Linked DNA regions of Homo sapiens: all the other regions are linked to region 1. Evidence: promoter capture Hi-C in 16 types of primary human blood cells and fetal thymus (Javierre and others, 2016). All regions are on one chromosome and are shown on one strand. The core of a region is centred on a gene start or on the middle of the fragment in contact, and the rest is flanking DNA. Distances in the headings are between cores, read along the strand shown.

Region 1 (5,156 bases), core at 918-3,417:
CCAGCTACTCAGGAGGCTGAGGCTGGAGAATGGCTTTAACCCAGGAGGCGGAGGTTGCAGTGAGCGAAGATTGTGCCACTGCACTCCAGTCTGGGTGACAGAGCAAGACTTTGTCTCAAAAAAGAAGAAGAAGAAGAAGAAAAAAACCTAATGGAGGTGTGGGTGGAGGGTAGAAGGGAACTGGCCATGTATTGATAATTTTTGAAATATGTTTCTCTGTATTCTTTATATTTGAAATTCTCCATAAATAAATAAGTAAAAATAATAGAAGTGAAGAGAAACACTTGCTACTTTTTAGTTGAAACTAGAAATGGAAATAGGTAAAGGCACAAGTTCTGCATTCCAGTGTGCCTCCTGTGGTAGCAATAGCAAAGAAACACTGTCGCACAACAGGCTGAGTAGGAGACTGTCACAGCATCCAGTCTGCTTACCTTAGTAAGAAAAACCATACATGAGCCTTAATGTTAGGGCATCAGCAACAATTGTATTCCTCAGACAGTTAATTTAGACAGAGCCCAATTCCTACTACATCTGAAAAATAAGATCAATGTCAATTTTCATGGACTAAAATTTGTTCAAGGTTTAAAAAAAATTACACCAGCAATGCCAGGTTTTTCATATATTTTTCCTAAATGACATTCAGAAATTTTACTCATATCTCTGTGGAAATCACAGTCTGCCAACTCTTTTAAATGCCTATTTTTATTATCCTTTACATAAAACTAAGGAGTTGTCAAATATCTTTCAGAAAAACAAAATGAAAAGAATTTATATGATATATATAACAGTCATGAGGCTAAGACTTTATATAGACATTTAATTATCTAGATCACTTATTTTCCTATCTTTTGTACCATTATGTTTTTCTCTTTTAAATTATTCTTTCCCCAACATGCAACATTTTAGGTTGTTCACAATTCATTGTAATCAATTTGCCATGCCCTTTGATCTTCTCTTTTTCTCTCTTTTCTTAGCCAATTTATGAGACCAGGTTAGCCACATATGTTGAGTGTGTGGCTCTCCAAAATTATATACCACAAATGGCATAAGTTTGAGGAATTCAGATAACTGTGGCAAACTCTAACCTCAGCTGTACCCAACAAAAATGAAAAAGAAAAGGCTTTCCCTTTCTTAAGCCCCTAAAAACATTTTAATAGAAAGCAGAGTTAAAGTCATCCTGCCACTTCTTCTTTTTACCTGTGTGGGCTTTTCAAGACCTAAATTCTCTAGGTCTCATCATCTTTCTCTTTCTTTTTATTTATTTATTTATTTTTTAGAAAAGCTATTTGCCATAGGGAAATCCATTTTTCGGATTGGATATATAATAAATACATGAGAGAATAAGGTATGCCTAAATGGGACAAACCAGAATCCATGTAAATTTTGAACCTCACCTGCAATTTTGAAAGTCCTATTAATTTAAAAAATAGTAAATACCTTAATTTTCATGATAGCTTACTGTAAGGCTCCCTAGAGGCAATGAAAATGGGAATCTCAATAAAACGAATACTACCATACATCCTGGCTTCAGAGATGAAAACAGAGGGAGAGGATTGGCTAGTTATCAACAGAAGGGTAAGGAAAAAAAGCACAGAGAAAGAACAGACAAGGCAACAAAAGTGGCAGAACTGTAAGGGCCAATACGCATCCACTGCTTCAAGTTTTTCAGCCATGTTCCATTCTCCGAGATTTCTGGTAGTGCTTCAAGAATACTGGTCTCCAAACTCTTCCTGAAAAGGGCTAGGAATGCTTCTGCCTGAAGATCTTACCTATTCTTTCTGGGCCCCGTGATCTCCCTACATGATTGATCAACCTACTATTTCAACTCTTTCAAGCCTTTTCACAAATGTCAACTTCAGTGAGGCCTCTATTTAAAAATGAGCACCCTACGAAATCCTTTCCTCATTTCTGATTATCCCCTGTGAATTTACATCTGCCTACTCCGTACCCTCAGTTTATGCCCCTTGAACACTCTTGCCGGGCGCTTCTCCTTTAAATCTTGCCTGGAAGGGGCGGAGCTATGTCCCAGACTCACCGAGAGGAGCGTTCTCTAGGCTCCGCCCACTTACGTCTCAGTGGGCGCCCTAACGAACCCGGGATACGGTCTGTTCCTAGTCCGCTCCGGAAATGCAACTGCGTACGGGCTGGCCGCGTAATCGTGACGACAGCGCGCCAGCGCCGGCTAGCCGGACGCCCTAGGCTTCCGCGAGATCTTCGGTGGGGGTACGGGTGTTTTACGCCAGGACGCTGATGCGTTTGGGTTCTCGTCTGCAGACCCTCTGGACCTGGTCACGATTCCATAATGTACCACAACAGTAGTCAGAAGCGGCACTGGACCTTCTCCAGCGAGGAGCAGCTGGCAAGACTGCGGGCTGACGCCAACCGCAAATTCAGATGCAAAGCCGTGGCCAACGGGAAGGTGAGGTTTTCCCAACGGTTGCCCAGTTGCCCGGTCACTAAATTCTGAGCAGCTGCGGGAGCTCTTCTGGCTCCCAGGACAATCTCGCTCCGTCGTTTCTCTGCCTCTGCGGCGCGGAGTGCGTTTTTCTATCAAAATAAGCGAGCACCTTGCCAGGTTCCGTGGGTACAAAGACGAACAACGCCATCCCCGTCGTCGAATGGCAGACAAGTAACCAGTCTTTGTAACGTAGTGAAGAAGAGAGTAAGTAGTGTGCTAAGGTAGTGCGTGGCAAGAGCCGTTCACTTGTCAAGAGATGATGTTGGGGAAGGTTTTTCCCAGTAGCCAATGCGGAGAAAATGGGAAAGGAAGTTCCAGGCAGTCAGAACCACCGTTCAGAGTGGGAGGGAGGTCAGAAGTTACAGAGATGGTGCGTGGACGTGTTTGTGGTCGTATGTGGCCGAAGTTGAGTACCTGTGCAGGAATGGCTGGGGAGGGTAGGAAGGGAACTTGTAAGTGGAAGTGAGGCGTTTAACATTTCCACTGAAAGGATGAGGAACCTTTGAAATATTTAAAATGGGAAGCTAACCTTATCAGATTTCCGTTCTGGAAACAGCGCTCTAGCAACCTCGTGGTGAATGGGTTGGATGAGGGAGGGAGACCAGAGACCAAGTACAAACCAAGTGACTGAAGATGGTTTGGACTATGGCCCGCTAGCCAAGTTCCTTCTGTTACAGCTCTCGGACTGGTTTAATCTTTCCTGCAAGCTCCACTCCAGCAAGTGTTCAGTGCCTCCAAATTACCGATACTGAGTTACTTTACTTTCTACCTTTAATTCACATCTATTTCATATCACTGATTTTAGCACCTGAATTAGTTTCCTAAGGGCTGCCTTAAAAAAATCACCACAAACTGGGTAGCTTAAAATAACAGAAATTTATTGAAACATTTGCTGTTTTTTTACAACTTGTGACGTAATGACTGACCGAGAAACGGATGTTGGAAGCTTTCCAATCATATTTTAAAAAGTCTGTCTACTTTTTAATTTATAAATAATGATATCACAACTGTGAGCATGTGCACACAGCCTGTCATGATTGTTTATACTTTAATGAAGCAAAGGTCTAGCTGACATTCCGAAAAGTCGTGAAATGATGGTACAGTTTTAGTTTATTAAATATTTTCCTACAGCTATTTTGTGTAATGATTAGCGAATCTATAAAGAAAATGAGGCGTGATATATACCCTTCGTTGGATATATAAACTAAATTTAATCTAGATAGAGAAAAATGTTTTACAATTGTTTAATTCATTGAATTCATTGAACTTGTGTTGTAATTGTTGATCTAAAGGTTCTTCCGAATGATCCAGTCTTTCTTGAGCCTCATGAAGAAATGACACTCTGCAAATACTATGAGAAAAGGTTATTGGAATTCTGTTCGGTGTTTAAGCCAGCAATGCCAAGATCTGTTGTGGTAAGTTACAGTGGTGATGAAATATAATGTCCTTTAGTTGGCTTGTGAAATTTGACCTCTTCTAAATTCCCTGTCCACTCAAGTCTTAAAAATTCACCTTAGTTACAATTAATTAGTTTTTGGCACATTATATATTTTTCAATACAGGCCTTAAATCATGAGTTGCTGTATCATATCTTCAAAAGTATTTCAAGTCTCACTTTGTGGTCAGAAAAAAATTTGAGGTCAGGTAATGTCATAAAGAAAGAAAAAAAATAAATTACTTTCCTCTAAGTTCTCAACTAATGAGCCATAGGACTGGGACTAGAACATAGACTACTGCTTTTCCAACTCTGTGACACCCAATAAATGTTTGAAATAATGCATTCATTCATCATTGGTAATCATATGCCCCAGCTGAAACTGATACCATAAGATTTTTTTAAGCCTTGATTAGTAGAAGCTGGAGTTTTATCTTTGGTGAAAAAGATTGCCTTATTGTTTCAGATGTATGGTTCTGAGGACCTATTTGTTTTTTGCTGGGGTGGGCAACCGTGAGGAGAAACAGGTAGCTGAGATTAAAAAGCAGAAAGATAAAAAAGGTAGAGTGGGAGGGTGTTCAAAATGTTGTTACGTTATTCTCTCACTGGTTTGTTGTGAAGACCAAATATAAAAGTATATCTTAAGTAAAAGTCTGTTAAGTTTTAAAGTTATACAGCGTGACTAGCTTACGACCCAGTAGAGAATAATTTTCTAGGAAATTATCTCCATTTTTATAGTTGAAAAAAAAATTGAAGTATGTTGAAAATATTAAGTCCATAGAATTTACAATTTTTTTTCATCTGAGATGTCAAAGATTCAGAGAGAGTTTTAGGTATACTTGATTAGTTTATATCTTCAGATTTGGCTTGTTCTTACAAAAGAACTGTAAAATGAGGCAGTAAATTTAAGTGATCTTATCAAATGAAGAAAAAATCCTTTAATGAACTTCTTTATGGAATTTATTTTTAAATAACATGTTTATCATTGGTGAATAATTTTTTGTTTTACATAATGACAAAACTAAACTTTTAAAATACTTAAAAGGAAATATTCTTTTTTCTATCATAAAATAGATAAGTGGTTATTTCATTGGTTCCAGCCAAATGATATAATGGTTAAAAGTACAGGCAGGTCTTACTTGAATTCATTCCTGTTCCTTATTAGCTGTGTGACCTAGATAAGTCAGTTAACCTCATTGATACTCAGTTTCCTTCTCTGTAGAGATAGTAATACTTCACCAAGCTGTTGTAAGGATTAAAACA
Region 2 (5,156 bases), core at 1,592-4,091, 870 kb before region 1:
GGTGGAAAGCATTATCTTCATTTTCATTGAATTGTAGTGGTTCTTTACACAGTGTGAATACTAATCCTTTCGATAGTCACATGTGTTGCAAAGATCTTTTCCCAGTTTGTGACTTGTCTTTTATTTTCCTATGGTGTCTTTTTCCTTTTTAACTTTTTATTATAGAAAATGAAAACATACCATAGTATCCCTTTATCTATGGGTTTGCTTTCCATGGTTTTAGTTAACTGCAGTCACCTCATGTCCAAAAATATTAACTGAAAAATTCCAGAAATAATTCATTAGTTTTAAATTGCACATCATTTTGAGCAGCATGATGAACTCTGCCATTCTGCTCCATCTTGCCCAGGATGTGAGTCCTCCCTTTGTCCAGTGTATCTATGCTGTATATGCTACCCACCTGTTAGTCACTTAGTAGACTTCTTGGTTATCAGATCAAGTGTAGCAGTATCACAGTGTTTGTGTTCTTTACTTTACTTAATAATGGCTTGGAGTGCAAGAGCGGTGATGCTGGCAATTTGGATATGCGAAAGAGAAGCTGTAAAGTCCTTCCTTTAAGTGAAAACATAAAAGTTCTCAATAAGGAAAGAAAAAACACAGTATATACAGGGTCCAGTACTATTCTCAGTTTCAGGCATCCACTGGGGGTCTTGGAACACATTCCCTGCAGATAAGTGGGGATTTACGGCATGTAAAAGTATGAAGAATAGAATACTTAGTCCCCATATACCTATTACTCAAAAATTCTCAACTCATAACCAATCTTGATTTATACTACCACCCACTTTCTGCAACTCTTATCTTGAAGCATACCCCAGACATTATATCACTACATCTCTAAATATTTCAATATGTATTTCTAAAAGATAAGGAATCTTTAAAAATTACTATCACACAAAAATGGTTTAATTCCCTAATATCATCAAATATTAAGCATTCATATTTCTATAAATGTGCCCTTACAAAATTTTTCAAAAACGAAATTTGAATAATGATACAGATAAAATCCTGTGGTAGACAACCTCCAAAATGGCACCCAATAATCCCTTCTCATACTGTACTTGGTTGGTGTGTGTGTCTGTGTTAGTCTGTTCTGCATTGCTATAAAACAATACCTGACGCTGGGTAATTTATAAAGGAAAGAACTTTATTTGGCTCACAGTTCTGCAGGCTGTAGAAGCACGGCACCAGCATCTGCTTCTGGTGAAGGCCTCAGGAAGCTTTTCTTCATGGCAGAAGAGAAGGGGAGCAGCATATCACATGGTGAGAAAGGGAGCAAAAGAGATGACAGGCTCTTTTAAACAACCAGCTCTTGTGTGAACTCAGATAGTGAGAACTCACTTATTGCCACAAAGACAGCACCAAGCCATTCATAAGGGATCTACCCTCATGAACCAAACACCTATCACCAGCCCCACTTCCAACACTGAGAATCACATTTCAACATGAGATTTGGAGGGGACACACATCCAAACCGTATCAGTGACCCACAGGTTGGCTACATATCTGTGTAATAATATGTCACTTTGGGGGCTAGGTCAACAACGGCATAAAAAACCATGGTGGCTTCTGCTTCTCTCTTGGATTACTTGTTTTAGAGGAAGCCAGGAAGCTCTATGAAGAGGTACATGTGGTGAGGAAGTGCGGTATTCTGCTAAACAGCTAGTGAAGAACTAAAGTGTCCTGCCAATAGCATGTGAAAGTGTATCCTCTGGTACTAGTTAAAACATCAGATGATTACAGTCTCAGCTGATGGTTTGACTGATAACTTCACAAGAGACAATGAATCAGAACCACTCAGCTATGCTGCTTCCGGATTTTTGACCTTCAGACACTACATGAGATAATGAATATTTATTGCTTTGCATGTTGTATTTTGGGGCAGTTTATTATGCAGCAATAGAAAATCAGTATACATTTTGGTACTCAGAAGTGGGGTGTTAGCAAAAACCTAAAATGTAAGTGTGGTTTTAAAACTGGCAGTGAACAGAAGGTAGAACTTGGAGGAGAGTGTTAATGAAAGTTTGAAGAGCTTTGAAGAAATTTTTTATAGAAGCATAATAGATAACCTTTGAGGAGGCTGCAGGTGACATCTTAACAGATTAGAAAACTCTTCTTGGAAACTAGAGGGAAGGAGATCCTTGTTACATAATGGCAGAAAGTTTAGCAAATTTGTTATCCACAGATATGTACAAAGTAGAAAAAATGCCTAATTAACTCATTGATCTAGCAAAGGAGATTGCCGGCCAAGTGTTAAATATTTCATGTGTATTTTTTCTTGTTGCTGATAGTAAAATGTGTGAGAAGAGAGACCATCAAAGTAAGGACTGTTAAACAAAAAGGAGCCATGGCTGGGCATGGTGGCTTATACCTAAAATCCCAGAACTTTGGGAGGCTGAGGTGGGAGGAATGCTTGAAGCCAGGAGTCCAAGATCACCTGGCCAACACAGCAAAAAACAGACTCTATTACAAACAAACAAACAAAAACAAGTCAAAACTTGCTGGATTTGAAGATTCCCAGCCTGTGCAGATGACAAATGTGCTAAAATTGGGGAATATCTCTGAGCAAAAAGCAAATCTAGGGCACTGCCAGTAAAACATAAAGTTGAGGCTGTAGTTATAAAGTCCTTTAATAGCTCAGAAAGATCTTAAGTTGTGCCTCAGAGTATTTTCATCAGACAAACGATGTGTCTCAGAAAATCTCTGAATAACATCACAGGTTTTTAAAAAGTTTAAGGGTATTTTCATCAGCAAAAGCTTGAGGCAGAGTTTATGTGGGACGAGATGTGTGGTTGTTGCTTTTGTCTGATGGAGTGAACTCAAAATTCACAAGTGAGCCACAAAGTTTTTAAGAGAAGTCTATTAGCAGAAACATGGCCAGCCTGGACTGAAAGGCACAGAGAGAACCAAATGGAAAGAAGCTTGTGGGACATCCAAGCTTCTATAGGCAGAAAGCAGGCAGAAGTGTAAACAAGAAAAAGAAAGGGTGACTCAGTGAGTAGATCCAAGATCCCAGAAGGCAGAGCTAAGAGAATTCTAGGCCTTGAAACTTGACCAAGCAACTGCCAATCTGTGCCCAGGTGGGTTTCAGAATTTCTGTGAACCTATGTACCTCCAATATTCCCTCTTTTTAAATATACATGTCCACATTTATTATCCTATTCATTTTCTATTACATGTGGAAGCAGAGACTGTGTCTTTAGTGTATGAGTCTTCAGATCAAAAAGAACTCTTCTTGAGGAGCTGTACTTAAGTACACCTATGAGTGTCATCCACAATTGGAACTGATTTAGATTTCTAGACCTTGAACTAATGGTGTCATAGGATGAGAGCTTTGGAGAGCTTTTGGAGGGGATGAATATATTTTGCAAATCAAGAACTATCAATCATTGGGGCCAAATTGTGACAGCTAGCTTCCCAGTATTCATGCTCTTGTGTAATCTCCTCCCACATATTGTCAGGGAAATGTCTGTGTGACTAACATTATATAGTAGAAGTAATGTTACATCACTCTGAATGATCATGGTTTCTGTCTCTCTCTTGGATCACCTGTTCTAGAGAAAGCCAGTTGCCATGTTGTGAGAAAACACAGGCAGCTCTACGAATGAGCCCTCTAGGAAGTGGATCCTCTAACACCAGTCAAACTTTCAGACTACAGCCCAGCCAACATCTTGACTGCAAATTCATGAGACCTTGGGCCAGAACATCTAGCTAAACCACCTGTGGATCCTAAGAAAGTGTATAAATATTTTTAGATTTAAGCTAGGGTGATTTGTTATACAGTAAGATAACTAATCCAAGTTCACAGGTTGCTTCATATTGAACTAAGTCTCTTGTAATCTACGGTTTTCTCCACTTGTCCTTCTCGTCTCCTTTTCTCCTGCAACATATTTGTTGAAATTAATTTGTCCCAATATTCTCCAAAATTGGATTTTTCATTTATATTTTCCATTCCAAAATATTACGTTGTGGTAGGTTTCATTGGCTTAAAGTTTTAATGGTGTTTATATTTTCTGCAAATTGGATGGATCTAAAGACCTGATTAGTATCAGGGTCAAATTTTTGATAAGATTTTAACATCAGTAGTGGTGTTTTTCCATTAAGAAACATATGTTTTCTTGTCTGTCATGTTAGCAGCTGTTGAAATGCAATAAATAAATCCATTTGTTCATTAGGAATTTCAAAATGGCAATTTTCTATCATTCCTCCATTTATTAGCTAGAATACATGTACAAAGAGAACCCTCTCCTCATCTACTATGTGGTTACTTACAGTTCACATACAAAAGGCAGGACAAATGCCTAATTACTTTAAAAACAAAACAAAACTGATTTTCAAAATAATGAATTGATGCAACAGCATCTTCTACTGTTGACCAACTAAATGCTGTTTGTTTTACAATCATTATGTACTCAGATTTAAAGACACTTGATATGTTCCAATCAATTGCATTTACTGTCCTTATTGACACTCAAATGGTCTCATCTATGGCCAGAAGGATGCTTTTCAGTTGTCTCCTGAGTCCATTTGATATGACACCCTCGTAGTCTCTAATAGCTTCCTTGCTATCTTGCACAAGGTATTCCAGGCTCATCTTGTATGTTTCCTGGGCATGACTGAAATTAACCGCTATTCTGAGGGTTTATGGAGTCTTGAACAGAGGTTTTTAACTTTAACATATTGGACATACATGTTTTCCTTTATACATATTACATTTCCCTACCATAAGATCATAAAAATATTTTGCAATCTTTCTTTTGAAGGTTTACTATGTTTTCCTTTCACACTTACATCTTAAAGTCATCTGAAACTACTTTTTCTGTATGGTGTTAGGTAGGGAGGACCAATTTCATTTTTCCCCCATATGAATATGCAGCGTCATCTATTGAAATGATCTAGCTTTCCCTGCTGGTATGCAATGCCATCTCTGACATAAGTCAAGATTCCTTACAATCAGGATTCCTTATAAATCAATTTTTCCATCTCTAAGCCAGTATTACAATATCCTAATTACTATGGTTTTAACAGATTTATTGAGGTACAATTCACATACCAATTTACTCATTTAAATGCACAACTGAATTGATTTTAGTGTATCTACAGAAACGTGCAACTATACATTTTAGAACTTTATTGCCTCAAAAAGAAACTGCACC
Region 3 (5,156 bases), core at 1,487-3,986, 810 kb after region 1:
CGGGAAGACATGTTAAGACCATGCTAATATCTTACTCCTCACAAAAATTTCCTTTGGATATAGGCTCCACTGATTATTATTTCCTGATTATTACCATAATAGTTGTGAAATAATGATTTTCCAACTCCAGTACTCCTTCCATATTTACTAACTGTCCTTTTACATTCAACTATATGAAAAAGACCTTCTTCCTACTCTATATATTTACTTAATCTATTTATTATTGGTAAACACTAATGAATTTTTAAGTGGTTTATAATTCAATACTCTACTTAAATATTTTAGTGCTTACAGTGTTCCAGATTTGGTAGCCCCTTCAAGCTTCCATCTGTGTTTGTTATGTGTCCTCATCATTTTTTATTTTTTAATATTTCTTATTTTATTTCATAACAAGATATTCCTGGCCTATTTATACCTACCTTATGTCAGTCCTGGGAACCAGAATCTCTATGAAGAATGCTCATTGGTTTTTGTTAGTGGTAAATGGTAATAAAGATCAAGGGCTGGGTGTTTTGCATGTTCACTGCTACTAGGATGCCTTTGCTTCCTAGAAGTTATGTATGTACACATAACATATACGTGTACATAAACATGAAAATGCAGATGCATATACACATTTTAGAAATCATATCTGGCCAGGCGCGGTGGCTCATGCCTGTTATCTCAGCACTTTGGGAGGCCAAGGCGGACGGATCACGAGGTCAAGAGATAGAGACCATCCTGGCCAACATGGTGAAACCCGTCTCTACTGAAAATACAAAAATTAGATGGGTGTGGTGGCACGCGCCTGTAGTCCCAGCTACTTGGGAGACTGAGGCAGGAGAATCGCTTTAACCCAGGAGGCAGAGGTTGCAGTGAGCTGAGATCGTGCCACTGCACTCCAGCCTGGCAACAGAGCAAGACTCTGTCTCAAAAAAAAAAACCAAAAAAAACAAAAAAGGAAAAATAAAAAAGAAAAAGAAATCACATCTTTCATCAATACCTCAATTTTTAATCCATCCCCACAGGGCTCTTTCTTGCTTTCCCCTGCTCCAAGTCTGATCTATCTTGCTAGGAGAAATAATGGATCTTCTTTATAGTCTCTCCATAGAAAATGATATTGCAAAATTGTCACATGAAGGGGTGATCAAAAGGTATGCAACAAAAAACTATAGGAAACTGTCTTATAGAAATGTATCAGGCAATTAATGATTAAAATATTATTTTACTTTTGTGTGTTTGTCCTTCACATGGAAGCAGCAAGGAGAAGTGCAGAGTGAAAGGGGGTAAAACCCCTTATAAAGCCATCAGATCTCATGAGAACTCACTATGACGAGAACAGCATGGAGGTAACCACCCCCGCTTCACTTCAACACCTAATGTTTTATTTTTAATGCTTTGTGGTTTTTATCTAAAAAGTGCCTCCTTATGATCCACCTCTGCTTGTCACCTAGCACAACTGCATAAATTAATGTCCAAGGAGACAGAAATTGTCAGAGAATGAAGTATGTTCAATTATACGATACATTTTAAAAATGTTATTTTTTCCCCAAGTGTTTCAAAATATATATGCTACAGGATGGCTTTATTCAACAGTCTCGGCTCCAAAATAACTTCTGGGTATTTCCAAATATCAAATCCACTCCAAGGAGATTTGACAAGACTTAGTTTGTACCAAGAGAGTATGAGAAGGTGAAATGATTTAGAATATCAGAAGCTAAACCAAACAACAGACAAAAAACAAAGTGAAAAAACGTCTCGTTACCTTTGGATACCATTTTTTCCCTTAAAAGTGTTTCGTGTTTTTCATTCCAACTTATTTGTCTTACCTTAATTTAGGTTTAAAAATGGTTCACTTTTCTTGAATCATCTCATAATACAACCATTTGTCATTGAGAATTACCAAGTATGGGTAGATACATATTTATAAGATAAACACAGAAACTAATATTTCTCAATTTGAAAATCACCAAGTCTCGTTATATTTATATTCCATCTCCATTTTAGCTTAACTTGCTGTGACACTTTGTTACTGCTTTGACCAGGTCTTGTTAAATTGCTACAGTAGGGCGGGGTGTGGCGGCTCACGCCTGTAATCCCAGCACTTTGTGAGACCAAGGTGGGTGGATCATGAGGTCAGGAGTTCAAGACCAGCCTGGCCAAGATGGTGGAACCCCATCTCTACTAAAAATACAGGCAGGATGCGGTGGCTCACGCCTGTAATCCCAGCACTTTGGGAGGCGGAGGCGGGCGGATCACGAGGTCAGGAGATCGGGACCATCCTGGCTAACATGGTGAAACCCAGTCTCTACTAAAAACAAAACAAAAAAAATACAAGAAATTAGCCAGGTGTGGTGGCACACGCCTGTAGTCCCAGTTACTGGGGAGACTGAGGCAGGAGAATTGCTTGAACCCGGGAGGTGGAGGTTGGAGTGAGCCGAGATCTCACGCCACTGCACTCCAGCCTGGGCGACAGAGTGAGACTCTTAAAAAAAAGAAAAAAGAAATTACTATGGTATCTCGTGCTTTGTTTTATAACTAGAATACCAAATGATTAAGTAGCTTCATTTATTCTTTTTAGGGAAACATAATTTAAATGATGAAGGGTTTTTTATAATAAATTTGATGCATTGTTCTAAAAAGAAAGACTTTTTCCAGAGTAGGAGCAAAATAAATATAGGAGAGATTTGAGAGTAGAACTAACGTTCTTGTATTCTATATGTTGAATATAAACAATTGTGCAAGTAACTCCCTGAAAATCATGATTTATAACCAGGTCCAATACTATTGATCAATGTATGTAAGCTGCTGCTGTATTTCTATTATTCGGGTGAGACTACAGAGAGGCACTCTGATCCTCTAAACAATGTGTTTGTTGGCAACTACATTGTTAAAATAGTGATACGGTTTGGCTGTGTCCCCATGCAAATCTCATCTTGAACTGTAGTTCCCATAATCCCCACGTGTTGTGGGAGGGACCCTGTGGGAGGTAACTGAATCATTGGGGTGGTTACCTCCACGCTGTTCTCGTGATAGTGAGTTCTCATGAGATCGGATGGTTTTATAAGGGGTTTTACCCCCCCCCTTCACTCTGCACTTCTCCTTGCTGCTGCCATGTGAAGAAGGATGTGTTTGCTTCTCTTTCTGCCATGATTGTAAGTTTCCTGTGGCCTCCCCAGCCCTACGGAACTGTGAGTCAATTAAACCTCTTTCCTTTATAAATTACACAGTCTTGGGTATGTTCTTATAGCAGTGTGAGAATGAACTAATACATATAGTCCATCAAAAGGTATTTGTGTTATAACAGTTTCTGTGTTTGGCTTTTCAGTTTGGACTTATAATTTTGAAAAAATGGAATTTACTTGATAATAACATCTGTGCCCTTTGTGTAAATTATGACTGCATTCAACAAAGAGTTGTTTTAAACATGTCAGCTAATTATAAAACTATTACACAAAGTGGGTTAGGTTTAATTACCAGTTCTCTTCACATCCCTCATTGAACAGCATTCGAAAACTGTATTATTATCCCTGAATTGTGCTTGGCCATCTTCTTTCCTACTTGTGCTAAGGGATTTTTATAAATAACAGACTTATAAAACTCATTTATGGATTTACTGTGAGGATTTTTTTCCTAAGGATGTGGTTCAATACACTTCACAGTGTCATTTTTATGAGGACCCATAGGAAAAATTTCTCTCTGGTCTTAGACTAGAATAAACAGGCTTCTTCCGAGTAGCTGACTTGCTTTTTTGCCTGTTTGCCTATGGGTACTGTTAATAATGAACTTCACTGTGATTTCCTCTTTAGGTTCCTAGAAAACTTAGAGCCAAATATGCGATCCATCTTCAGTAGAAACGATGAATGTATTTTGTGTACCCTACTCCTGGCTGTATCTTCTTTTCTAAATTCACCTTTGCTTCACTTTACTTCTCAATTTAAAATCTATTTTATCTTGTTATATAGTGTGTGTCTTTCTTTGGCACGTCAAATGTTTTCTGGAATAATATTAACATGTAAATCAACTAATAAATCATAAATCATAAATTTCCTCACATAGAAAGTTGTTGCAGTGTAATTTATCAAGTTTTCTCTTCTATGCTTTATGGAGCCTGGGCCAGACAACATAATTGAAGCTAGCTAATGTAACATACAATCCCCAAATTTAGTGGCTTAACACAATTTATTTCTCACTCATGTCATAATCTGAATCAGATGTTAAGCATGTGATCTTCCACGTGATAATTTAAGTGCCATCATCTTCTAGGGTCTCTTTGGAGTCCTCTACTCGATTCACACACTACTACCTAGAAGACAGGGGTCTGAGAAATATGGGATTTCTGTGTGCTTGAGAGGAAATTGGAAATAGCTTGGTTTAAGACATACTGTTTTCTTCAGAGACTTTCTAATTTCTTGCTGGAGTATTATGGAGTGACTCCACAGGAATTTAATATCCGGTGGTTAAATATAATCTTGGGGCTTTGTTACAGTGGCTGAAAAATCCTCATAATTCTACTGTGGTTTTCTTGCTCCTACACATTTCCCCAGAGTTGCACACTCCAAGGAACACACTATAACCTGGAATCAGACTGACATGGGTTCAATCCAAGATCTACCATATTTAGCTTTGGGCTAGTTGCATAACATTTCCCTATCTTTCAAGTGGGGACAATAATGTTACCCACTTTATGGACTTGTTATGAGGGTTAATTGAAATATTTGATGCTTTAGAGTGTTCTATTAGTAAATGTCCCTATAATAATCCCCTTTGGAGGTATCCTCCTCCATGCCACTTTTTAATTAATTTTCTCTTTTTGCTTCATTGTCTAGATTGGCCAATGAAGTAGGTAGGTCCAAAATATTTTTTAAAAAGCTGATTCATTATTAGAATGTAATCTCTCAGAGGGCCAGGGGTTAGGTTTTTATCTGATTACTGATGTATCTATCGTAAGTACCCTGCATAAAGACAATCAATGACCGTTCACTGAAAACAATGAATGATGTGGCAATTTGAATTTACATTAAATACTATGTTTTAAGTGTGAAATTGTTACTTTTTTTCTTTTATTACGACACAATATTTTACATATGTATGGAGTACGTGTGAGTAATTTTTACATACATAGAAGGTATAATGAGAAGGTTGGAGTATTTGGGTGATCTATAAGCTTAAGTATT
Region 4 (5,156 bases), core at 1,652-4,151, 790 kb after region 1:
TCCTTAAAAGATCATCTAGTTGACACAATTCTTTGACTGAAGAATCAGAGAAGTAGATAAGTGATACTTTTGAAGGACATATGAAGTGCTTAAGTATTCTGAAGGTAGGACAACTTTTACTGCAGTAACTAATGATCCCCAAACCCCAAATGCTTATAACAATGAAAATTTCTTGCTCACTCTATACATCTGACATGGGGCTACACTTACAGAGTCTTTCAGGAACCTAGGCTGATGGAGGCTATATCCCTGTAGCAGGAAGAAGGGAAGTTGGTGAAGGGTATACTGCCTTTTAGAGCTTTCATGTAGAGGTAATGCATGTAACTTCTCAGTTTTTTATTGTCAAAGCAAAGGGGTTAGATTTTGATCCTATGTGTACAGAAATAGAGCTGTCATATTTATGAAAAGCCTTAATGATTACTATACCAGGTTAAGGAAGGAAATGTGGGTACCACACAAATCAACTATACATTTTTTGAATTATATACTCAGTAAAAAATCATCACTGTATTAAGATATATGGAAAGTGGCTATCTTCCCTCTGGGTTATAACGTTACAATAGCTATGATAACAAAACACCATTTGATAATAGATGAAGTTTTTAAAAAGGTTTTGATGTAGGCAGAGTATAAATCATATAAAAGCTCATATTATTATTTTCTATTGAAAGGAGACAGAAAGAAAAAGCATAAACGGTATTTCTGCTCTATTCTATATAGCTTACTCTAAAGACCTATGCTGTGATCTTTATTTATTGGAAACACTAAAATGAAGGCTTATTACATTTTATGGCATTCCAGTCCATCTTTTTAGTATAGTATATAGAATAATTGCAGCAGGCAGTGTCTTTTGCATACCCAATAGCCACTTTCTCTTCCCTTTCTGGTAGAATCCTGACTTGTTTCAGTATCTCCTCTGCCCACGTAAGACTTGTGAGAAAATGCTAATTGATCAAATTTAATCATTGTCATGCTATTCCCTTGCCCGTGTTATATTCAGAAGTGAATTTATCACTTTTCTGGACAGTGACTAATGAGGGATAGTCTGAAGGAAAGCTTTCTTCACTTTGAAAAATAACAAAGACAGTAATTTTTCTTGCTGGGTATTGTCAAGTCTGTATGGGATAACTGGAACTGTAGCAGCCATCTTATGAGAATGAAAGAAATGGTTTAGAAAAAACAGGCTGAGGAACTTGGAGGGCCCTAAAATTCCTGAGCTCCATCTTTTGTTACACAAGATTAAAAAAAATAAAAAATTCCCCAGTTCTTTAAGCCAGTGCTTCTTAAAATGCTGGCTTGATATAAGATGAAGAGCTTTCCTGGAATGTATATCAACACACTTTCCTTCATTAAGGGTTTGTCTGCAAAGAAAAAGAGATATCAGATAGACTAAACAGTGGTGACATAGTTGAGTTACATTTTGGTGCAAATTTAAACTCATTTTTTTTCAACTGGATTATTTCAATACATTTATGTTTGGTGGGAGAACCAATTTCCAACTATCCAGGAAAAATTCATTTTTATTCATAAAGCATTGAAACATACATTTAGTGCGTAAGAGGCCTAGAATTTGTTTTTAGGTAATTTTTATTCTTGGCTTCAGATTATTGAAAGGATTAATAGAATAGAGTGTTAATGGATCACCAGCTAAATTATAGATGCAGGATACATGAATAAAGAAGGCTCTCTGGGCTCAGAAAGATCACAAGCTGGTATGAAAGGTAGATAAGGAAATCAGTAATTACAGTACCTGCTGAATTATAAGGCTGTTTACAGGGTGTTAGAGATTTATGTGGAGTGTGTTAAATCAGGAAGGGACTGGGTTTGGTGGCACATGCCTATAATCTCTCAAAGGAGGAGTAATTGCGGCCAGGAGTATGAGACCAGCCTGGGCAATACAGTGAGACTCAGTCTCCTCAAAAAATAAAAAGTACTAGCCAGGGATGGTGACAAGCCCCTGTAGCCACAACTACTCCAGATGCTGAGGCAGGAGGATCCCCTGGAGGGTGGCAGCCAGCTATGATTGTGCCACTGTACTCCAGCCTGGGTGACAAATCGAGACCCTATCTCTTAAAAAAATAAAATAAAAAGGGAAGGCTTTATAGAAAAGGTGGCACCTGAGCTAAATTAAGACTTGGAGGTGGTACATAAAACTGTGTGATATGGCTGGGATGAGGCTGAAACTATAGGGAAGTGACCATTGTCATGGTGAGGTGTCTTACAGTGAGTAAAATGATGACTTGCATTTTAGCACTATCATTCTGGCATCACTTTTGAAGACACAGTGTCTACAGCACAGACCAATCTATTAACTATTGCAGAATTGCTCTGGGATCAACTTTAACGACTTACACAATGCCCATTATACTTCCCCCATCTCGCTTGTTTCAATTAAGCACTCTACACTAAAAGCTTAAGAAAATTTGCCTCAATTTAGGTGTATTTTCTTTTTTTTTTTTTCTGTTTTCTTTTTTGAGACAGTCTTGCTCTGTCTGCCAGGCTGGAGTGCAGTGGTGTGACCTCGGGTCACTGCAACCTCTGCCTCCTGGGTTCAAGCAATTCTCCTGTCTCGGCCTCCTAAGTAGCTGGGATTGTAGGCGCCCACCACTACACCCAACTATTTTTTTGTATTTTTAGTAGAAATGGGGTTTCACCATGTTGGCCAGGCTGGTCTCGAACTTCTGACCTCGTGATTCACCCACCTCGGCCTCTGAGTGCTGGGATTACAGGTGTGAGCCACTGCGCTGGGCCTCTATTTTCATTTTTAATCTTCACAACTACACCAAATTAGATAAAAGGGAGGTACAGATTGTCGAAGACGAGGAATTTATCAACCCTGGCTTTGAATCCAGCCAAGACTTAGTTCTGAGCCCACATTCTTAACCTCTATGGTCTCTGCAGCAAAACCTAAGACATTTTGAATTACTTCCTTCATTGTGGCCATAACTTAATTACGGAAACAGTGATAGTGACTTCTCTTTAAAACAAATCCTGGATTCTAACCAAAATTCCTATTCCAGTATTCTAGTGAGTTAGGGAAGCATCTGCAAAAGGTACAAACTTTTTACTTGGTCCTGATTAGTTTCACATGGGCATTTGTGGGTTCATCCAGTGTAATTTTTTTTTTTTTCCCCGAGAATCTGGATTTTTATGGAGACCTCCTGGTTTTAAATATTGGCTTGAATTTTAAAAACCAGTTTAGGGAAATAGAAAACTGAACTACTGTTATGGTTAATTTTGTGTCAACTTGGCAAGGACACAGTGCTCAAATATTTGGATCAACAATCCTCTAGATATTTCTGTGAAGGTGTTTCTTGAATTATCATGAGTTTACCATTTAAGTCAGTGGACTTGGAGTAAAGCTGATCCTCCTTATGTGGCTAAGCTTCTTGAATTCGTTGAAGATCTTAATGAACAAAGACTGACCACAAGGAGGTCCTCCCGCAAGGAGGAATTCTGACAGCGACTGCCTTTGCCGAGTCTCCAGCCCGCGGGCATACCCATATTTTCAACCCAAGCCTCCAGAATCAGATGACAATTTTAATTTTTTCTATGTGCATCCTCTTGATCTGCTTGTCTAGAGAACCCTAACACAGAAACTAAGCAGTTATACACCCTCTACCACTTACAATAAACTTACGCACTTACAGCCAGCCTGCTGAAGGCTTTTTATGGGGATGGCACAATCTGTACTATTACAAGACAGGCAGAGGAGGTTTTTTTCTCACTCACATATATCCCTCAAATACTTTTCTAGCTAGACCTAGCTACCCATAACTGTTACTATTGATTCCTAATATATATTTGAACATCCTCTCCAAAAAATTCATATTCATTTAGGACTTGTGAGAAGTTTTTATATAACTTACTGGATCTCAAAAACAATCCAGTGAGGTAAGCCTTACCATAATTTCCAGGAAAACCAAAATCATCTAACGAACCTTAAACTCTTACTCTTGCTTCTACTTTGAGACGGAGTATCGCTCCATCACCCAGGCTGGAGTGCGATGGCATGTTCGCAGCCCAATGCAACCTCCGCCTCCCAGGTTCAAGTGATTCTCCTGCCTCAGCCTCCTGAGTAGCTGGTACTACAGGCACATGCCACCATTCCCAGCTAGTTTTTTTGTATTTTTAGTAGAGACGGGGTTTCACCATGTTGGCCAGGATGGTCTTGATCTCTTGACCTCGTGATCCGTGCGCCTTGGCCTCCCAAAGTGCTGGGATTACAGGCATGAGCCATCATGCCTGGCCGCTTCAACTTTTTCCAAAGATAAAAAACCTTTATGTTCCATACAAGGAACTCTCTCAATACAGGATACCTGATTTATCACTGAATAATCAAAAAACAATGACATACAAGTACAGGGGATATATGAGCAAAGTCATATAAATTAAGGTTGCACCATAATTAAGCAGTTGTCAGGTGACTGTTGAAGAGCCTAAAGTGAGGCAGTAGTCGAGAAACAAAAATATCAAAATGTTAAGTTTTTAGCAAATCAGTAGTTGTACAGAAGGGCCATATAAGAAATCTAATGATATAGTGGGGAGTGGCCTACACAGCTATTTTCTTCAATGAAGAGATATAGAACCACTCAGAACAATTTTTCAAAAATCCAGAAATACACTTTTATGGAAATACTGTTTTTTAAATGTTGATTTAAAAAGAGCATCACCCTTTCACCAAAGTCTAGAGGCCAAACAGACTACCAGTTTGGAGTGTTTTACAGCATTTTAACATCACTGGTATTCCAACAGTGAGCAGAGGAAAATACTCAGTAGCTAGTTACTGTCCCACATCTTACACAAAGTCCTAAAATGTAATGACCTCATTACATTTTAAATGGCAAGCAGCATTTCACTACTTACAAAATAAATTCGATTCACATATACAATTACTAATCAGAACTACCTTTTATCCCATTTCTGCTAGGCTATATGATAGTCAAAGCACCAGAATAAATTGGGAGTACTTCCTATACTACAAATTTCATGGTATTATATTCAATTTCAAATATTCTTTTATTCATTCTAAATAAGACCAATACTGGTCACCAAAACACTTACTGAGGCAAACACTTCTGTTTTAGGTTACAGACCTAGAGGAAAAAAAACAAAAATGAAGCTCCTAAATATCTGATTAACCACAACTTCAATTT
Region 5 (5,156 bases), core at 1,085-3,584, 770 kb after region 1:
TCTGACAAATACATGATTTTGTCTATAATGATAGTTTAATCTAAGGGCTCAGCTGTTGGTTATTTGCAACCGTTCAGCTGTATATGTGTCTGGATCATAGTGGAGATGTGAAGATTGAAAATGAAGATTTGAGAGACCTCAGCTTATACATGGTATTTAAAACCATGAGACTGGATAAAATCTTGAATGCTCTCATATTCACCTTTTTATTATCCAGCGGAAAAATTGGATCAGGTACATTGAGTCATTCTTATTAAATTACTTGCCATAGTATTTTAAAGTTCTCTGTGCTGATTTAATGATGTGATGCAGATGGGGAGAGAAGCTATGAAGTGTGGCTCTGAAAATACATGCTTTTAGTTGTAGCTTAATTTGAGGTTTTACTGTTAGTTTTTTATAACTGTGCAGTATTTTCCAGGCATATCTTCACCTAATGTTGTTCTTTATCAGACTGAAAGGGAAGACACAAGTTTTATCATCTAAATTTACTTTGATTGTGTCCCATTACCATTTGGTTTCTCATATATCCAAAGCCAATTGATTTCCAATTAAGAACAAAGTCTTCTTTAATTTTAAATCCACTTAATTAATTGTTTTAATTTCAAACATAACAGCATTGCAGGGAAATCTTCGTTTAAAGTTTATTATTAACTGAAGTAAACAGAAGATAATGGAAACTGGAAGCATAGGAATCTTCTGTTAACAATAAGTTCTTTATCTTTATAATAGAAGCTAGTGTTTCACCTTTATTTTCCCCATTTCTTTCTAAGATAAGCACTTAAGTCTCCTTTACATAAATAGTACGAAAGACAAAGGGCTTATTTCCTTAAAAGACAAAAAGCCATTATAAATCAGTAAGTGAATAATGATGCACATTCCAACCAAAAACTGAAAGCAAAACAAAACAAAAAGCAAGGCAAAGAATATAATCAGGCAATTCACATCATATAATAGATGCTTAACCTCAGTTTATACACATTGTACTCTGATTTTTTTCCCAAATTTTTTTATTTTATAGTAATAAACTGTAATTTTGTGATATCTGGTATATAATTCTGTGTGCCACTGGTCCTTTTTTTTTTTACTTTTCTTAGCGTCTTAAACTATTTCTCTGTGTCTCCTTTATTCTCCTAACTTATCTCTGATTTTAATCCTGATCTGCAGAATAACTAGATCTAAGCAGAAGGAAACTGAGGAAATGGAAGCAGGAAGTATTATTGGTACTAATTATTGGCCATCAAATCTGAGTTTCCTTCCCCTCTTGACTTTTTCTGATATATTTTCAAAATTCTCTTTTTGATAAATCTTGTTTTCCCAGTTTCTAATTAATCTACTTTTTGAAAATTTTTTTCTGTATTTACTCTTACAGATCCTTCCGTATTTCTCTACATAACAAAATATCTAAGATTTTCTTGACATTTTCTAAAGGAAAATTAAATTCAGATTACCTCTGAACATTAAATAATATGGAAACATTTCTTTGAAAGGTAGAATAGAAAAGTTCTGAGAATTCACATCAACAAAAAAGGACTCTTAGAAATGGGAACTAGGAGTTGCAGCTAATAAGGATGTTGGTTCTAGCAGGTAACATACAAATTGCTCTTAGAATGAAAATATACCTTTGAAGGATCTATTACATTTATCTTAAATATCCAGAAACTAGGCTTTGGAAGCTCAGAAACTAAGAATTAAATTTTTTTTTCCTCAAAATGGAATAAAAAGATTAGAGTGGTCCTAGCAGTCAGGCCACAGTCTAGTTTGGAAAGGGAGCTGACGCAGTTTCTTGATAAAAGACAAGGAGTTAAATAAAGCAATTCTCCCTCCCTCCTCTTTACAAAAATATTTTGAATTTTTTTTTTGAGCTAAATTCTCCTTTGATGCAGCTCTACTCTTAGTATCAGATCTAGGTTTCACTATTTCTAACTTTTTACATATATAATGACTAGTATATCTCATTATTAGTTTACCAACAGGATTCAAAATTGTAGGAAGCACAGAGCAGCCAGTAGATAGAAATACGGGGTAATGACAACAGGCTTTACCAATAGCTGTTGCAATATTAAGAGTGATCCTCATGTAAACAATAGGAGAAACATGTTTCCTGTCCACAAATTGCTCTATTACACCGGAGTAACTAACATCTAATATGGTTGGCAAACCATTACCTCACTTGCTGACAGTGGTACAGCTCTAACTTGTGTCATAATCCTGAGCTGGCCACCTCACATGTGCAGCAGAGGTAGCTGAACACCACAGTTTTCAGGTGGGTGCTCCATCTATAAAGAAGCAGCCACCTTCCCTTCAACTCAGCCTTTACCTTATTGACAAGCCCACACTTTGCCAGCTAGTCTGCAACTCTTGAATACGTTTCAGAATGAAACAGAGATATGTTTGGCTTTAAAAGACCTACCTCCTATATCATCTTCTAAAATTCATAGCTCAAACTCAGTGCTGAGTTGGGTTCCCCGCTTGGCAACAAAATGTTTTCCATTAAATATGGAATTTTTTGTTGCTTAGTCTGTATGGATTTTCTCTTTCTTTCAAGGTAATAAAGAAATTAATGACAGAATTAGCTAGATTATTGATAATTATTGGTTTAAAAATAGACTGTGAAATATTGATATAAAAGGTATTTTTGCTGTAATAAACTTAAAATCAGCAAAGGCAGTATCTTCTTTTAGTTTGAAAAAATTATTTTTGGAGTTAAGAAAATGTATTAAATCAAATCTCTACCAACCCACCCTTAGATAATAACCCATCAGAAACAGTTTTAAAATATATATATAAGAAAATGTTGATGGAGTATGTGGGCTGAGAAACCTTGGGTAGAACACAAAATGTATCCATTTGATACAAAATAGAAATAACTATTAACTTGATCTATTTTTAAGAACTAAAAAGCAGATTCTAACATCAAAGTATATTTTACTGCAAAGCTGCAAAAATGGACTTTGAAATACCTGAGAAATTAAAGAGACAAGTCTGATTTTAATTGCATGAAACTTATAACTTTTATGGATATTATGCACTTCTGTACTCCCAAATTTATATTCTTAGAAATATACTCATTTGCAGTTTACCTTCAGGTTTACACACATACATGTGTGTGCACACATGCATGAGTACAGACAACTTACATAATCAAATTGTAAGAGAAAATGTAAGCGACAGCACTTGAAAACTGAATTCAGAACACTAAATTTTTAGAAAATTAATAATGGTAAGGGTTTAGCTCTTTGAATCAGTAAAATCTACATTATCTCATATGGTGGCCCAGATCTTAGAGCTTTGGCAGTCATTCCTTTTGCTTAGGCAAGTTCTTTCATTCATAATGGCTGTGTACAAAATCAATTCAAAATTTAATAAAACAATAATCATTTAATACACAGTTTTTGTGGGTCAAGAATTCAGGAGAAGCTCAGCCATAAAGTTTTTGCTCAAGGTGTCTCATGAGGTTGCAGTCATGTGGCTGTGGCTGAGTCAGCTCCTAAGTTTCTTTACTCACCTTACTGGTATATCATCTGCAAAAATTCAAACAGCTGGGACTGAAACATCTGGGGCTGCTTGGGCCTCTTGCTCCATCTCTGTGATCTGTGTGATTTCTCCAGCATGGAATCTTCAGGATAGTCCGGTTTCTTACATGCTAACTCCGGACCCCCAAAGAGAGAAAGAGAGCAAGCTAAGACCTTTATTATCTTTTATGACCTTTTTTTTTTAACCACAATTATTGATGGATTGAGTTAAAAATTTCTGCTCAGGTTCAAGGGGGAACATAGATGCACCATTTAATGGAGGCGTTATCAATATCACATTGTAAGAATGTGACATGGGATATATATTGCTGTGTCCAAATGTGGATAAATACAATCTGCCACACTAACAAATGTCTGGCTAAGCGTTACACTTAGAATTTTTTCTATATAATGATATTTATAACAGTAATAGAAATAGTTTTAAAATGGCAAATAAGGAATTGCCACCACCATAGAGGAAAGAGATCATTCTTTTTGATGAACATACACTCTCAGGTGACAGCTTTTTATACTTAATTGTATCCATCTCATGTGTACGTTCAGTTTCTGTGCTTCTTCTTTTTCTTATATTTATTTATTTTATTTTATTTTTTCTGAGACAGGGTCTCTCACTTTGTCACGCAGGCTAGAGTGCAGTGGCACAATCTCAGCTCACTGTAGCCTCGATCTCCTGGGCTCAAGGTATCCTCCTGCCTCAGCTCCCCCATGTGCCTGGGGCTACAGGCACGCACCACCATGACCAGTTAATTTTTTTGAGGGTTTTGCCATGTTGCCAGGGCTGGTCTTGAACTCCTGACCTCAAGCAATCCACCCTCCTCAGCCTCTCAAAGTGCTAGGATAACAGGCATGAGCCACCACACCTGGCCCCTTTCATTTTTTTGTTGTTGCTGTTTAACAGATACTTATTACCTGCTCTATAGTAAGCAGTGTATAAGAGGATGAGGTTGAAGTTATAGGCACAAAGTCATAATTGCTGTCCTCATTGAACACAATGAGAACTGTGTTTTGAATAGTTTGTAAATGAGGCAAGTCTTCAACATAAGTAGCAGCAGATTTGAATTTTAGGAGTTCATGAAGACTCTACAAGAAAAAAACTGCATAGTACCAGGTTGAGTTCAAATAAAGGTAATGTAAAGTAGGGAGACCAAATTTGCGTGTGTGTGTGTGTGTGTGTGTGTGTGTGTGTGTGTGTGTGTGATTTAGAAATAGACTCTGAAATAACTTAAAGAGATCAAATTTGCGTGTGTGTGTGTGTGTGTGTGTGTGTGTGATTTAGAAATAGACTCTGAAATATCTTAAAGAAAGAAGTTCAAAAAAGAAAAATGTTTTGAGACCGTGATGGTGGTAGTACCACAAAAAGATAATTAGCTTAGTTCTCCAAGGAAACTTACTGGAAAGTATATATCAATTTAATTATGTAAATTTGAGCATAAGTGCTTTAGTGTATATTCTATAGGAGTTGTGTGTGTGTGATAAGTCTCCTATTATCTTATAACTTTTTTTAGTGTTTTGAAAATCAAAACAATGTCTGGGACACTGCCAGAAAAAGGTATTTATTACATAAAAAATTATGATTTTATAGAAACTTAAAACCTTAGCTAATTATTAATTTTAAAAATCTAA

What was found. The method cuts DNA at HindIII sites, captures the fragments that hold promoters and counts their contacts. A CHiCAGO score of 5 or more calls a contact.
Region 2: a contact is called between a fragment that was not itself captured here and the fragment with the promoter of CCNH in region 1, in 2 of 17 cell types (total CD8 T cells and M2 macrophages). The highest score is 6.9, in total CD8 T cells.
Region 3: a contact is called between a fragment that was not itself captured here and the fragment with the promoter of CCNH in region 1, in 4 of 17 cell types (non-activated CD4 T cells, naive CD8 T cells, naive B cells and 1 more). The highest score is 6.4, in non-activated CD4 T cells.
Region 4: a fragment that was not itself captured here is called in contact with the fragment with the promoter of CCNH in region 1 in 9 of 17 cell types (total CD4 T cells, non-activated CD4 T cells, total CD8 T cells and 6 more); the score reaches 13.5 in total CD4 T cells.
Region 5: a contact is called between a fragment that was not itself captured here and the fragment with the promoter of CCNH in region 1, in 1 of 17 cell types (total CD4 T cells). The highest score is 6.3, in total CD4 T cells.

Annotation. Positions count from the first base shown.
Region 1 is chr5:87,409,941-87,415,096 of GRCh38, reverse strand. It overlaps CCNH (cyclin H), which reads left to right and starts at 2,167. Exons shown (of 9, transcript NM_001239.4): 1 at 2,167-2,419; 2 at 3,751-3,873. The coding sequence starts at 2,303. It overlaps LOC105379066 (a long non-coding RNA gene), which reads right to left and starts at 2,115. Exons shown (of 3, transcript XR_948543.1): 1 at 2,036-2,115. RefSeq lists enhancers at 2,211-2,380, 2,411-2,540. The HindIII fragment of the contact is 6,680 bases long and covers 1-3,406 here.
Region 2 is chr5:88,278,111-88,283,266 of GRCh38, reverse strand. All of the region lies in intron 2 of TMEM161B-DT (TMEM161B divergent transcript), which reads right to left. Among named protein-coding and RNA genes, the nearest start is that of TMEM161B-DT, 12 kb to the right of the region's middle. The HindIII fragment of the contact is 164 bases long and covers 2,760-2,923 here.
Region 3 is chr5:86,602,275-86,607,430 of GRCh38, reverse strand. No RefSeq gene overlaps it. Among named protein-coding and RNA genes, the nearest start is that of COX7C, 13 kb to the left of the region's middle. The HindIII fragment of the contact is 4,825 bases long and covers 324-5,148 here.
Region 4 is chr5:86,621,091-86,626,246 of GRCh38, reverse strand. No RefSeq gene overlaps it. Among named protein-coding and RNA genes, the nearest start is that of SNORD138, 3.2 kb to the right of the region's middle. The HindIII fragment of the contact is 973 bases long and covers 2,415-3,387 here.
Region 5 is chr5:86,636,822-86,641,977 of GRCh38, reverse strand. No RefSeq gene overlaps it. Among named protein-coding and RNA genes, the nearest start is that of SNORD138, 19 kb to the right of the region's middle. The HindIII fragment of the contact is 6,938 bases long and covers 1-5,156 here.